4 separate regions of the Homo sapiens genome follow, and all the other regions are linked to region 3. Evidence: promoter capture Hi-C in 16 types of primary human blood cells and fetal thymus (Javierre and others, 2016). All regions are on one chromosome and are shown on one strand. Each heading gives the region's core, a stretch centred on a gene start or on the middle of the fragment in contact. The rest is flanking DNA. Distances are from core to core; before and after follow the strand shown.

Region 1 (2,788 bases), core at 122-2,621, 530 kb after region 3:
CAAGTTTGAAAATGTCATACATGTAGCCTAATGAAAGCTATAAAGAATTAAAGAAATAATGCTTGTCTTGGAGGTCTAAAGAAGGTGAGCCATATCCCTGGTGGTTCAAGTGGTTAAGAAAATATTTTAAAAAGAGAAAGTGAGCCCTAAAAACACAACACAACAGTGTCCAGCCCAATCCAGGAAGGGGCAACACTGAACTCATGAACACCATCTAAGCACGTGTGGACTTGAGGCAGTTTTTCAACCTCATTCCTCAAGACCCCATATCCCTCTTCTAGTTCCATTTTTGACAAAAGCCTTCATATTACAATTTGGTTTCTCTAATTCTTAGGTACAACAAAGAAGGTGCATTGATTTGCAGTTGGGAACTCTGTGGTTGCAAAATGGATCATCTTTCAATGTTAAATTAATAAGTTTGCATTCTGTCTCTTTCATCTGGCACTTAAAAGTCAGGTTACTCTGAGTCAGCTCCTGAGAATCCCTTTGGTTCTGGTGCACTAATAACCCACCAGCCTAAGAACAGACATAGACCACTGTGACTTCACAAGAAAGTATCACCTTGTGAAGTTCTGCTTTGGAGACCAGATGACCTAACTCAACAGCATCTTCATCTCTTCTCATTCTAACCACAACAATTAGGCTGTTGGATTTGTGTGAAGTTTATTGCTAGAAGATTGGCACAGTATAGCCCTGCTCTACTAGATATAAAGCCAAGAGGTCTTGAATGGAGAAGCATTGGGAAAGTGTAGGTCTCATTTCTAACTAGTTCATATTCATGGCGAGCATAGGCTCAAAACAATGAATGCCGGATATTCATGTTTCCAACAATTTGTGGCTTCATCAGCAATTGTGGGCTGCCAAAGCTGCAGGGGACTTCCTGGTTTTGACCCATCCCAAGAGTAACAGGACACAAGGCTGATAGGATGAAATATCCAAAGTCCACCCCCAGGATTCCATTTTTTTTCTTTTTTTTTTTTTGAGACAGAGTTTTGCTCGTGTTGCCCAGGCTGGAGTGCAATGGCACGATCTCGGCTCACCGCAACCTCCACCTCCTGGGTTCAAGTGATTCTCCTGCCTTGGCCTCCCAAGTAGCTAGGATTACAGGCATGCGCCACCATGCCCAGACAATTGTGGTTTTTTTTTTTTTTTTTAGTAGAGACAGAGTTTCTCCACGTTGGTCAGGCTGGTCTCGAACTCCTGACCTCAGATGATCCACCTGCCTTGGCCTCCCAAAGTGCTGGGATTACAGGTGTGAGCAACCACACCCACTGCCCCCCCCCACCCCCACAGGGTCCCTTTTAAGAAAGGCTACAAATTATAATTAGAGGGATGGTAATCAGAAATGAAATCAAACGTGTTGGGTTCAGAAAAAAACAGAAGATGCTATATTAGTGTATTCAGGAGAGGCACTGGGAGAAATAGACAAAATAAGAAAGAGAAAGGAGCAAAATGGATATGTTTTTGTGGCTGCAGAGTAAGAAGAACCAAGAGGTCATTTGGAGCTCACTTACATGGAACAGAATGTACAGTGGGACTAAGATTGCAGGGACCGTGTCCAGCGTCCCAGTTACAGCACCGTCTCTTTGTAGTAATGACACAAAGACTATGTAGTAAATAATAATTAAGGATGAAAGACGAGCTGTGGACAAAGGGTGAGATCAGGAGGGAAATAGGCTTTGGTTGTAAATAAAAGACACATATTCACATTTGCCCTAATGATGGTTCCCACGTGCCGTGGATCTTCAGGAACAGCCTTCCTTTTATGTAATTTTATGCTTCTCCGTAAAAATTATTTGTAAAATGTTTAATTAAATGTGATTTAAATTCTATAATTTTCTGAGGTATATCATATATATTAATTTGAAAATTTAAAAATCCACCTATAATTTGCCTTTTTAGGGTTTATGAAATATAGTAACTATAACCATCTTTGCTGTTACGCTAATAATTAAAGATCTAGACTAAGTATGTGTATGGAAAATATGTTTTATAAATCACATGGAAAACACATTCTATTCACCTTGATTTAATCTTTGTAGGAGATTGGTCAGAGTGGTGGGAGAAACTATAGGGAAAGGATGCAAACCTTCTGAAAGTTCAGAAGGCTCTGCATAGCTTCAGGGGAGAATAAGCTGAAGGCAGCTGTTCTCTGATCCTGAGGCAGAGGGCAAGGAGTAGGTACAAGGAGGTGTAGGGGAATTTATCGTAAACAGGCTTGTTTACTTAGGTTGTCCAGAAACCGACCTTTGATAATCTGTGCACATGACTGCTCCCTGAAAAGGGGAACAATAATGTTAATTACCCGCAGATTGTGTTTGCTCCAGGCTTTCGGCATTATGTCTGTACTGAATAAAAGCAAGCAGCTTCAGCTGTTCGCAGCTGCTCTCTTCTTTGGCCCTAAGTGCCGGCAGACCCCTAGCTGCTCTTACACTGCACGCCTGTGTTGTCAGTACTCCCTTCATCCGACGCTCGGCCAGGGTCTGCAGGACAGACCTGGCAAATCTTCAGCAAAAATCCATCACCAGAGTTCCTACTGGATGTTTCCCCCACAAACACACAGACACTACGATGTTCTACTGCCACTGTAACAAAGTGACATGCATTTCATGGCTCAAAATAACACAAAACACGAATGTACTATCTTACTGTTCTCTATTTCAGAAATCTGACTTGGGACTCAGTGTACTAAAATCAAAGTGTTGGAGGTCCTGGGGGGGATTTGTTTTATTGCCAAACTTTTCCAGCTTTCAGAGGCTGCTCACATTCCTGGGCTTGTCCACCATTT
Region 2 (3,021 bases), core at 406-2,905, 510 kb after region 3:
AAGTCAGGAAACAACAGATGCTGGAGAGGATGGAGAGAAATTGGAACACTTTTACACAGTTGGTGGGAGTGTAAATTAGTTCAACCAATGCAGAAGACAGTGTGGCAATTTCTTAAGGATCAAGAACCATAAATACAGTTTGACCCAGCAATCCTATTACTTGATACATACCCAAAGGATTATAAATCATTCTACTATAAAGACACATGCACATGTATGTTTATTGCAGCACTATTCACAATAGCAAAGACATGGAACCAACCCAAATGCCCATCAATGATGGACTGGATAAAGAAAATGTGGCACATATACACCATGGAATACTATACAGCCATAATAAAGGATTAGTTCATGTCCTTTGCAGGGACATGAATAAAGCTGGAAACCATCATTCTCAGCAAACTCACACAGGAACAGAAAACCAAACACTGCATGTTCTCACTCATAAGTGGGAGTTGAACAATGAGCACACATGGACACAGGGAGGGGAACATCACACCGGGGACTGTGAGGGGGTGAGGGGCTAGGGGTGGGATAGCATTAGGAGAAATACCTAATGTAGATGACAGGTTGATGGGTACAGCAAACCACCATGGCACTTGTATACCTATGTAGCAAACCTGCACGTTCTGCACATGTATCCCAGAACTCAAAGTACAAAAAATCTCATAATTCAAGAAAAAAAAAAAAGGATGAAAAGGGGCCACTAGCTGAGGATGTGGACAGCCTGTAGAAGCTGGAAAAGGCAAGAAAATGATGTTCCCCTAGAGCCTCCATAAAGGATTAGCAGCAAGTAACTTTCTGAAGAAAATGCTGAGTAAGTATTCCTCAGAAAGAAAACACACCCCTTTCAATGAATCCTATTTAAACATCCAGTATAAACCAACACTGTGATACATTTTTATCTAATGTAATACCACAAGCAAACACCAAGCACTAAAAATGTTATAAAATGTGGACTTTGGAAAACCAAAAGAGAGCTAGTCTCTTTTCCAAGAAATTTCTTATTAGCAATCAAACCCTACCTTTTCCCCATGGCTTTTATTTTATTTCATATTTTATTTATATTTTATTTTATGTTATTACATTTTATGGAAAGCTAAAACATAAATCTAGCAATTATCTTTAAAACAAGACTTTTAAAAGACTAACATTTTAATTCATACTCACATTGTCCTGACACTGAAAATGGGGAAACCATTTGGGCAGAACAAACTAAAATATTGACTTCTGATTTCTAAGTTTACCAATAATTATTAAACATTAATAGTTTCCCTTTTCTAGAGAAGAAAGGAAAAGAAGGATGAACTCATTCCTGGTTAAGCTCAGTGCCAAGTGGAGAGGTCAACAAGAATGTAATGAACTTAGTATACTCACACCTGCTTAATAATGGATGCTGTTAGGACAGTTCCTTTTGAAGACATAATTTGAAGCTCTGGGTCCAATAGACAAGTAGTAGTTATGATGGGTAATAACTTACTAACAGCCTAAATGCACATGTTTATGAGACAAATAACTCTTCTTAAGCAAGTAAAAAGCAGACTAATAAGATGTTCCTACAGGATTTGATATAAACCTGAGAAAGGAAAACATCCCACCTGTGTGACACCACGTAGAAGAGAGGCTATATAAGCACTTCAAAGAGGAAAACACCAAGAGCCTTGGAATTCAGACTCTGTGGAGGTGGCTTGAGCTTTTCATCCTGGTGACCACAGACCTGGAACAAACTAAAGCCAGACACATACTATGGACACCAAGGGCTGTACAACAACCAATTCTCCTTCAACCCCATGTCAAAACTGCTCTAGGATTACAAATGTTAGTACCATCTCTTCTAACAACGGCTGCCATCCTGGTGGCCTTACAGTCAACAACTGTCAACCAGCTGGCCACGTTCTCAGAATTCCCTGGGACCAGGGCTGCCAACCCACTCCTCGCTTTTGTCGCAAGCCCATCTACCTAATGAACAACTTCAATGCCCGTTTTTCTCTGGATGACTGCAGCTGGTATGGTGAAGGCATCAACAGTAATGAGAAGGAGACCATGCAAATCTTGAACGAGCGCCTTGCTAACTACCTGCAAAAGGTGCGAATGCTAGAACGAGAGAATGCTGAACTGGAATCTAAAATCCAGGAAGAAAGTAACAAAGAGCTCCCTGTTCTATGTCCTGATTACCTGTCTTACTACACTACCATTGAGGAGCTCCAGCAGAAGGTAAGATTCCTAAGAACCTGTTTAATCGTGTTGTGAATTAATGGTTTCCAAGCAACAGTTATTTGCTAAACTTTAATATTTTTTGTTCAGTTGATGCTGAAAATTTTTTTGAAGAATAGAAAAATTTCTTGAGTGAAATTGTCATCTTGAGGCAGCATTCAGAGTCTGATAGTATTTCTGGTCAGGCGCAGTGATGCACACCTGTAATCCTAACACTTTGGGAGGCTGAGGCAGACAGATCACTTGAGCCCAGGAGTTCTAGACCATCCTGGGCAACATGATGAAATTCCATCCTTACACACACACACACACACACACACATACACACACAAAAAAAAATTAGATGGGCGTGGTGGCACATGCCTGTGGTCCCAGCTACTTGGGAGGCTGAGGTGGGAGGATCACTTGAGCCCAAGAGGTTGAGGCTGCCATGAGCCAAGATCCTGCCACTGCACTCCAGCCCAGACAAAAGTGAGACTATGTCTTTAAAAATCAGAAACAAAAAGAAGAGTCTCATGGTGTTTCCTTTCTCCAGAAATACACTCTACCATTATAACTAGATGACTCAGGACCAAAAGATGTTAACAGCAAGTTGTTGCCATTTTTTAAATAAAAATAGGGAAACAGAGATCAGAGAAAATAAATTTTGCTTTAATGAGTTTCTAAGCAATTTAGTTTTTATCCATTTTTCAACCATCACCACCTTTTTCTCCTTTTATGCTTATGTTATCATCTCCACATTGCTTGGTTTGTTTCTACACCAAACCTAAGTTTGTTATGCACAGACGTATTCTGCTACTACATATC
Region 3 (2,727 bases), core at 43-2,542:
CATTCAGAGCTGGGAGGGCACAGCAGGGCTGGAGCAGGGGCCAGACTTCGGGGGAAGGCCTGGCCAGGACTGGGCCCTTAGAGGCAGTGGGGTGGGCCTGTGGTTTGGAGCTGCAAGGCCTGGGCTTTAGCCTCCCTGGGAAGCCTGTGTGGACCTTGGGTAAGCCATTTTCTACTCTGACCATTGTCTCCTTCTGTAGGAGTCAGCACCTTTCTATCCACGACTGTGTTGGAGGGTGTGTGTGAGGCCTTAAAGAAGATAGCATGCCTTGAACAGTTGTACAGATGCTTTTTCAGCTGTGATCTGGGACAGGCTCCTGAAACAGTCCAAGCCTCCTCTATTTAATGGGCTATTGGTGATGCCAATCTCATGAGTTTGTGTGAGGACTGAATAAGAGAATGCATAGAGACAGATCAGCGTGGGGGCTGGTGGGTACTAAATGCTCAGTGAATGATGGTTGCTACCATCAGCCGGGTTATTGATAGGGCTGTGTGAAAAGAGCTCCAATTCAGGCAGCCAGAAGGAAGGGCTTCTCCATTTCTCAACCAGGGCTGGGGAAGACATGCCCTCCTAGATGTCATCATGGGCAGGTGTCCAATTAACTGATCTCTAGGCATTGTGGCTAGAACTTAGGCTCTACAACCTGCACAGACTTCCTGGCAAGGGAAAGAGTAGGGAAGTGTCCATCAGGGCTCTGCAGTATCTAGGGTGATAAGCTGTCCCATTTTACCGAGGACTGAGGTTTCCCTGGCATATGGAACTTTCGGAACTAAAGCCAGAAAATTCCTGGGGAAACCAAGAAAATTGGTCACCTTAGCCATATTTTCTGGGCCAATTCAAGAGCCTTCTGTGTCTCCCTGGCTGCAAGACCCCTGCCTTCCTGCACCAACCAAGTTTACCCTTCCATCTTCTGGGAGCACCCCAGAGACCTCCTCTACTCCCTCAGGCCAATAAAAGAAGTCAAAGTTGGAGAAAGTCAAGACAGTGGCTGAACTCCCATGCTTGCTTAATGCGGAGGCTGAGGTCTGGGCTCAAATGACAGGTCCCTTTGAAGAACTGACAGGGACTTGGTCTTCCCAGTGATGTGGGGTGGTGGAGATGAGTCTTGACATAGTAATGGGGCTCCTATTTTATGAGACTGGTAAATTTTCACAGGAAACTAAATAACAGGTTAATGAGGGGTTTTAATAGAAAGTGGTGTTAACTTTAATGAGGAGAAAACACTTTGTAAAGGCCAACCAATGCCCACTGGGGCAGAGATATAAATCTGGGGTAAGGAGCTGCTTCTCTGCTTTGGGGTGTCTGGCCTCAGAGACCTATCAATTGCATCTGAGTTGCAGGGGCCATGGCTTCCAAATGCCTCAAGGCCGGCTTCTCTTCTGGGTCTCTCAAGAGCCCAGGAGGGGCCAGTGGGGGCTCCACTCGTGTGTCCGCAATGTACTCCAGCAGCTCTTGCAAGCTTCCAAGTCTCTCCCCTGTGGCCAGAAGTTTCTCTGCCTGCTCAGTGGGTCTGGGCAGAAGCAGCTACAGGGCCACCAGCTGCCTCCCTGCTCTCTGCCTCCCTGCTGGAGGCTTCGCTACCAGCTACAGTGGGGGTGGGGGCTGGTTTGGGGAGGGCATCCTCACTGGCAATGAGAAGGAGACCATGCAATCCCTGAACGACCGCCTGGCCGGCTACCTGGAGAAGGTGCGTCAGCTGGAGCAGGAGAACGCCAGCCTGGAGAGCCGCATCCGTGAGTGGTGTGAGCAGCAGGTCCCCTACATGTGCCCTGACTACCAGTCCTACTTCCGGACCATCGAGGAGCTCCAGAAGAAGGTAAGAGGTTCAGAGTGGCTTTGGATTCCCAGGAACTTTGTGTCACCAGCATTCATTGGTAGTTCTGTTCCCATAGGGCATGTTGGAAGTCACCAAGCATGTTCATCTCTGTGGCCTCATTTGCTCCTCCCAATAACCTTAAGAGGGAGGTATCATTAGCCCATTATACAGTTGAGAACACTGAGATTCAGGCTGGGTAAGCGACCCAGATGGCAGTTACTGGAGCCAGAGCTTGAACATCAGGTCTATGAATGAACTCTGTGACCTTTGGTGGTATTGCCCAATCCTCTGAGTCTTCTGAGTTTTCATTTCCTCTTTTATTTAAAGTCAGGGGATTGGGTTTGATGTATTTAGTGCAGTGCAGTTCAGGCTTCCCATAAGTAACTCAGGGAAGAAAATGCCTGTCAGAGAAGTTTCTTTCTTGCCAAGGGCCCATATCCACTTCTCGCCTGGCCCAAAGTTATAGCTGGCTCCTGTGAGGGACCATTTATGACCAGAGAATCCCGGGGTATGTTGTTGGCAATGAAATGCCCTGGGCCCCCAGTAGGCCTGGGAGACAGGGAGATTGGAAGAAGCCTCATTTCATCATGCCAGGCCTTTCCTGTTGCATTTTCATGCAGCTATCTAACCTGAGTAACAGGTCACAGATACACTGCACTGGAAGAAACCCTGGACTTTCCATAGTTGATCCCTAGAGCCTGCCCATAACACTCCAATGCACATGGAGTAGCAGAGGTCTAGGATGGGTGACTTCCTCCTTCCAGAGTCAGCCCTTGTCAGCTTTAGGGAGCTCCAACAAGTGGAATGTCCTTTCTTGCAATGAAATAACTTCTTCATATCTCCAGACTCTATGCAGCAAGGCTGAGAATGCCAGGCTGGTGGTGGAGATTGACAATGCCAAATTGGCTGCA
Region 4 (2,700 bases), core at 1-2,500, 670 kb after region 3:
ATTCAATACCACTGATACGAGGCAAGTACACATATGTTACTATGAGATAGCAGTGCTTGCTGTTAAGTTTGTCTCTTCTACCCATTCTGCCCTCCTCCCCCAGGCCACAATCTTAGCAGTCAGAGTCCTCTATGTGGTTGGATGGTGACCCAAACTTTCATTCCTGAAAAGTCTGCATACATCGTGGTCCTGTCTTCTTACCATTTCAATCTTGCAATACCTCCTTAAACAATTATTTATATTCTCTCTGATAAAGTAAATACTTTATCTCAGATAAACAGCTGCTTTCTTGATTGGACTTGGATAACTATGGTTTGTTTTTGCTTTTTTTTTTTTTTTTTTAATGAGACAAAGTCTCACTGTGTTGCCCATGCTAGTCTTGAACTGGGCTCAAGCAATCCTCCCACCTCAGTCTCTGAGTAGCTGGGATTATAGGCACATGCCGCAGTGCCCAACACTATGGTTTAATAAAGATAATCTGTCTAAATAAGCCACTTGTCTTTAATAAGGACATTGGTATTTATAGTAAAAAAAATTACAGAATTATTTTTAAAAATTATTAAATAGCACAGGGCACTATTTTTACCAAATAAATTTGCATGTACCTATTAATCAAAAAATTCTGTATGCATTCTTACAGATTCTAAAGTCATTACAGAATCCTGCTATTTAAGCAGGGTAGTGCCTAATTAGATTGGCAGAGCCAATTCGGCACCCATGTCAAAAAATATTACACGATAAAATCCTGTTTCCCCAAAGATGTTCTCTTATGATGCTAAAGGCCTAAAAGCTTTGCACCCTAATCTTGGTGCCCATGATGGCTTGATATTTTGCTTGGGAGTGAAGAAATAGCTTTGTTAGGGTCATCTTTATCAGGGAAGTAACTCGATTAAGGTTAAATAGGATGCATCTAATATTTCTCATCTATATTGCATTTTGAGAATGGGAATTAGGGAAAGAGCTTATTCATGGTTTATGAGCATGCAACTGAAACACAGTGATCCCTGGACTTCCTATCCTGGCACTGGCATTTACAAATTATGTACCTTTGGACAAGTTACTTCAACCCTTCTGAGTCTGTTTACTTACCTATACAATAAGGGATAGCTACCTTATATGAGGTAGTTGTGGTTAAACTAAGCTTGACAATGAAAATAATGATAATAATAGCCTTTAAATCACACCGGGCATTGTTCTGAGTAAATGATGGATGGATAGATAGGTAGGTAGGTGGGTAAATGTGTGGATGGATAGATAGATAGATTAGATAGATAGATAGATAGATAGATAGATAGATAGATACAGATAGGTAGGTAGACTCAGTACATATAACATGTATATGAACTCATTTAAGCTTAGCTACTACCCTACAGTTTATTTTCAACACAGAACCATAGTTATCCTTTTAAAATGTAAGTCTAATATATTAGATCAAATTGTAAGTCTAATTATATTTGATCAAAATTCTTTGATGTCTCTCCATTTCTCTTTTGATGTTACCTTGGTTAATATTCTTTAACAAGATGGTCTTCCTTACCTCCTTCAAGCCTTTGCACAGTTGTCACTTTTTCTTTGAGACCCACTCTGATTTTCCGCTTAAAATTTTACCTGCCAATCTCCCAACTCCCCTATCTGCTCCACTTTTTTTATTATTATTATACTTTAAGTTCTAGGGTACATGTGCAGAATGTGCAGGTTTGTTACGTAGTTATACGTGTGCCATGTTGGTTGGCTGCGCCCATTAACTCGTCATTTACATTAGGTATTTCCCCTAATTCTATCCCTCCCCCAGCCCTCTACCCCACAACAGGTGTGTGATGTTCCCCACCCTGTGTCCATGTGTTCTCATTGTTCAACTCCCACCTATGAGTGAGAACATGTGGTATTTGGTTTTATGTCCTCGTGATAGTTTGCTCAGAATGATGGTTTCCAGCTTCATCCATATCCCTGAAAAGGACATGAACTCATCCTTTTTTATGGCTGCATAGTATTCCCTGGTGTATATGTGCCACAGTTTCTTAATCCAGTCTATCATTGCTGGACATTTAGGTTGGTTCCAAGACTTTGCTATTGTGAATAGTGCCACAATAAACATACGTGTGCATATGTCTTTATAGTAGCATCATTTATAATCCTTTGGATGTATACCCAGTAAAGGGATCGCTGGGTCAAATGGTATTTCTAGTTCTAGATCCTTGAGGAATTGCCACACTGTCTTCCACAATGGTTGAACTAATTTACACTCCCACCAACAGTGTAAAAGCGTTCCTATTTCTCCACATCCTCTCCAGCATTTGTTGTTTCCTGACTTTTTAATGACCGCCATTCTAACTGGTGTGAGATGGTATCTCATTGTGGTTTTGATTTGCATTTCTCTGATGACCAGTGATGTTGAGCATTTTTTCATATGTCTGTTGGCTGCATAAACGTCTTCTTTTGAGAAGTCTGTTCATTTCCTTTGTCCACTTTTTGATGGGGTTGTTTTTTTCTTGTAAATTTGTTTAAGTTCTTTGTAGATTCTGGATATTAGCCCTTTGTCAGATGGGTAGATTGCAAAAATTTTCTCCCTTTCTGTAGGTTGCCTGTTCACCATGATGATAGTTTCTTTTGCTGTGCAGAAGCTCTTTAGTTTAATTAGATCCCATTTGTCAATTTTGGCTTTTGTTGCCATTGCTTTTGGTTTTTCAGTCATGAAGTCTT

The links. The method cuts DNA at HindIII sites, captures the fragments that hold promoters and counts their contacts. A CHiCAGO score of 5 or more calls a contact.
Region 1: a fragment that was not itself captured here is called in contact with the fragment with the promoter of KRT35 in region 3 in 5 of 17 cell types (M1 macrophages, total CD8 T cells, non-activated CD4 T cells and 2 more); the score reaches 9.1 in M1 macrophages.
Region 2: the fragment with the promoter of KRT39 here is called in contact with the fragment with the promoter of KRT35 in region 3 in 2 of 17 cell types (naive CD8 T cells and non-activated CD4 T cells); the score reaches 9.0 in naive CD8 T cells.
Region 4: a fragment that was not itself captured here is called in contact with the fragment with the promoter of KRT35 in region 3 in 1 of 17 cell types (M2 macrophages); the score reaches 5.5 in M2 macrophages.

What each region holds. Positions count from the first base shown.
Region 1 is chr17:40,949,144-40,951,931 of GRCh38, reverse strand. All of the region lies in intron 1 of LOC107985072 (a long non-coding RNA gene), which reads right to left. Among named protein-coding and RNA genes, the nearest start is that of KRT23, 13 kb to the right of the region's middle. The HindIII fragment of the contact is 4,385 bases long and covers 1-2,788 here.
Region 2 is chr17:40,965,582-40,968,602 of GRCh38, reverse strand. It overlaps KRT39 (keratin 39), which reads left to right and starts at 1,655. Exons shown (of 7, transcript NM_213656.4): 1 at 1,655-2,214. The coding sequence starts at 1,747. The region is part of intron 1 of LOC107985072 (a long non-coding RNA gene); the gene reads right to left. The HindIII fragment of the contact is 5,044 bases long and covers 1-3,021 here.
Region 3 is chr17:41,479,716-41,482,442 of GRCh38, reverse strand. KRT35 (keratin 35) reads left to right here and starts at 1,292. Exons shown (of 7, transcript NM_002280.6): 1 at 1,292-1,816; 2 at 2,662-2,727. The coding sequence starts at 1,346. The HindIII fragment of the contact is 10,492 bases long and covers 1-1,461 here.
Region 4 is chr17:40,814,134-40,816,833 of GRCh38, reverse strand. No RefSeq gene overlaps it. Among named protein-coding and RNA genes, the nearest start is that of KRT10-AS1, 3.7 kb to the left of the region's middle. The HindIII fragment of the contact is 213 bases long and covers 1,144-1,356 here.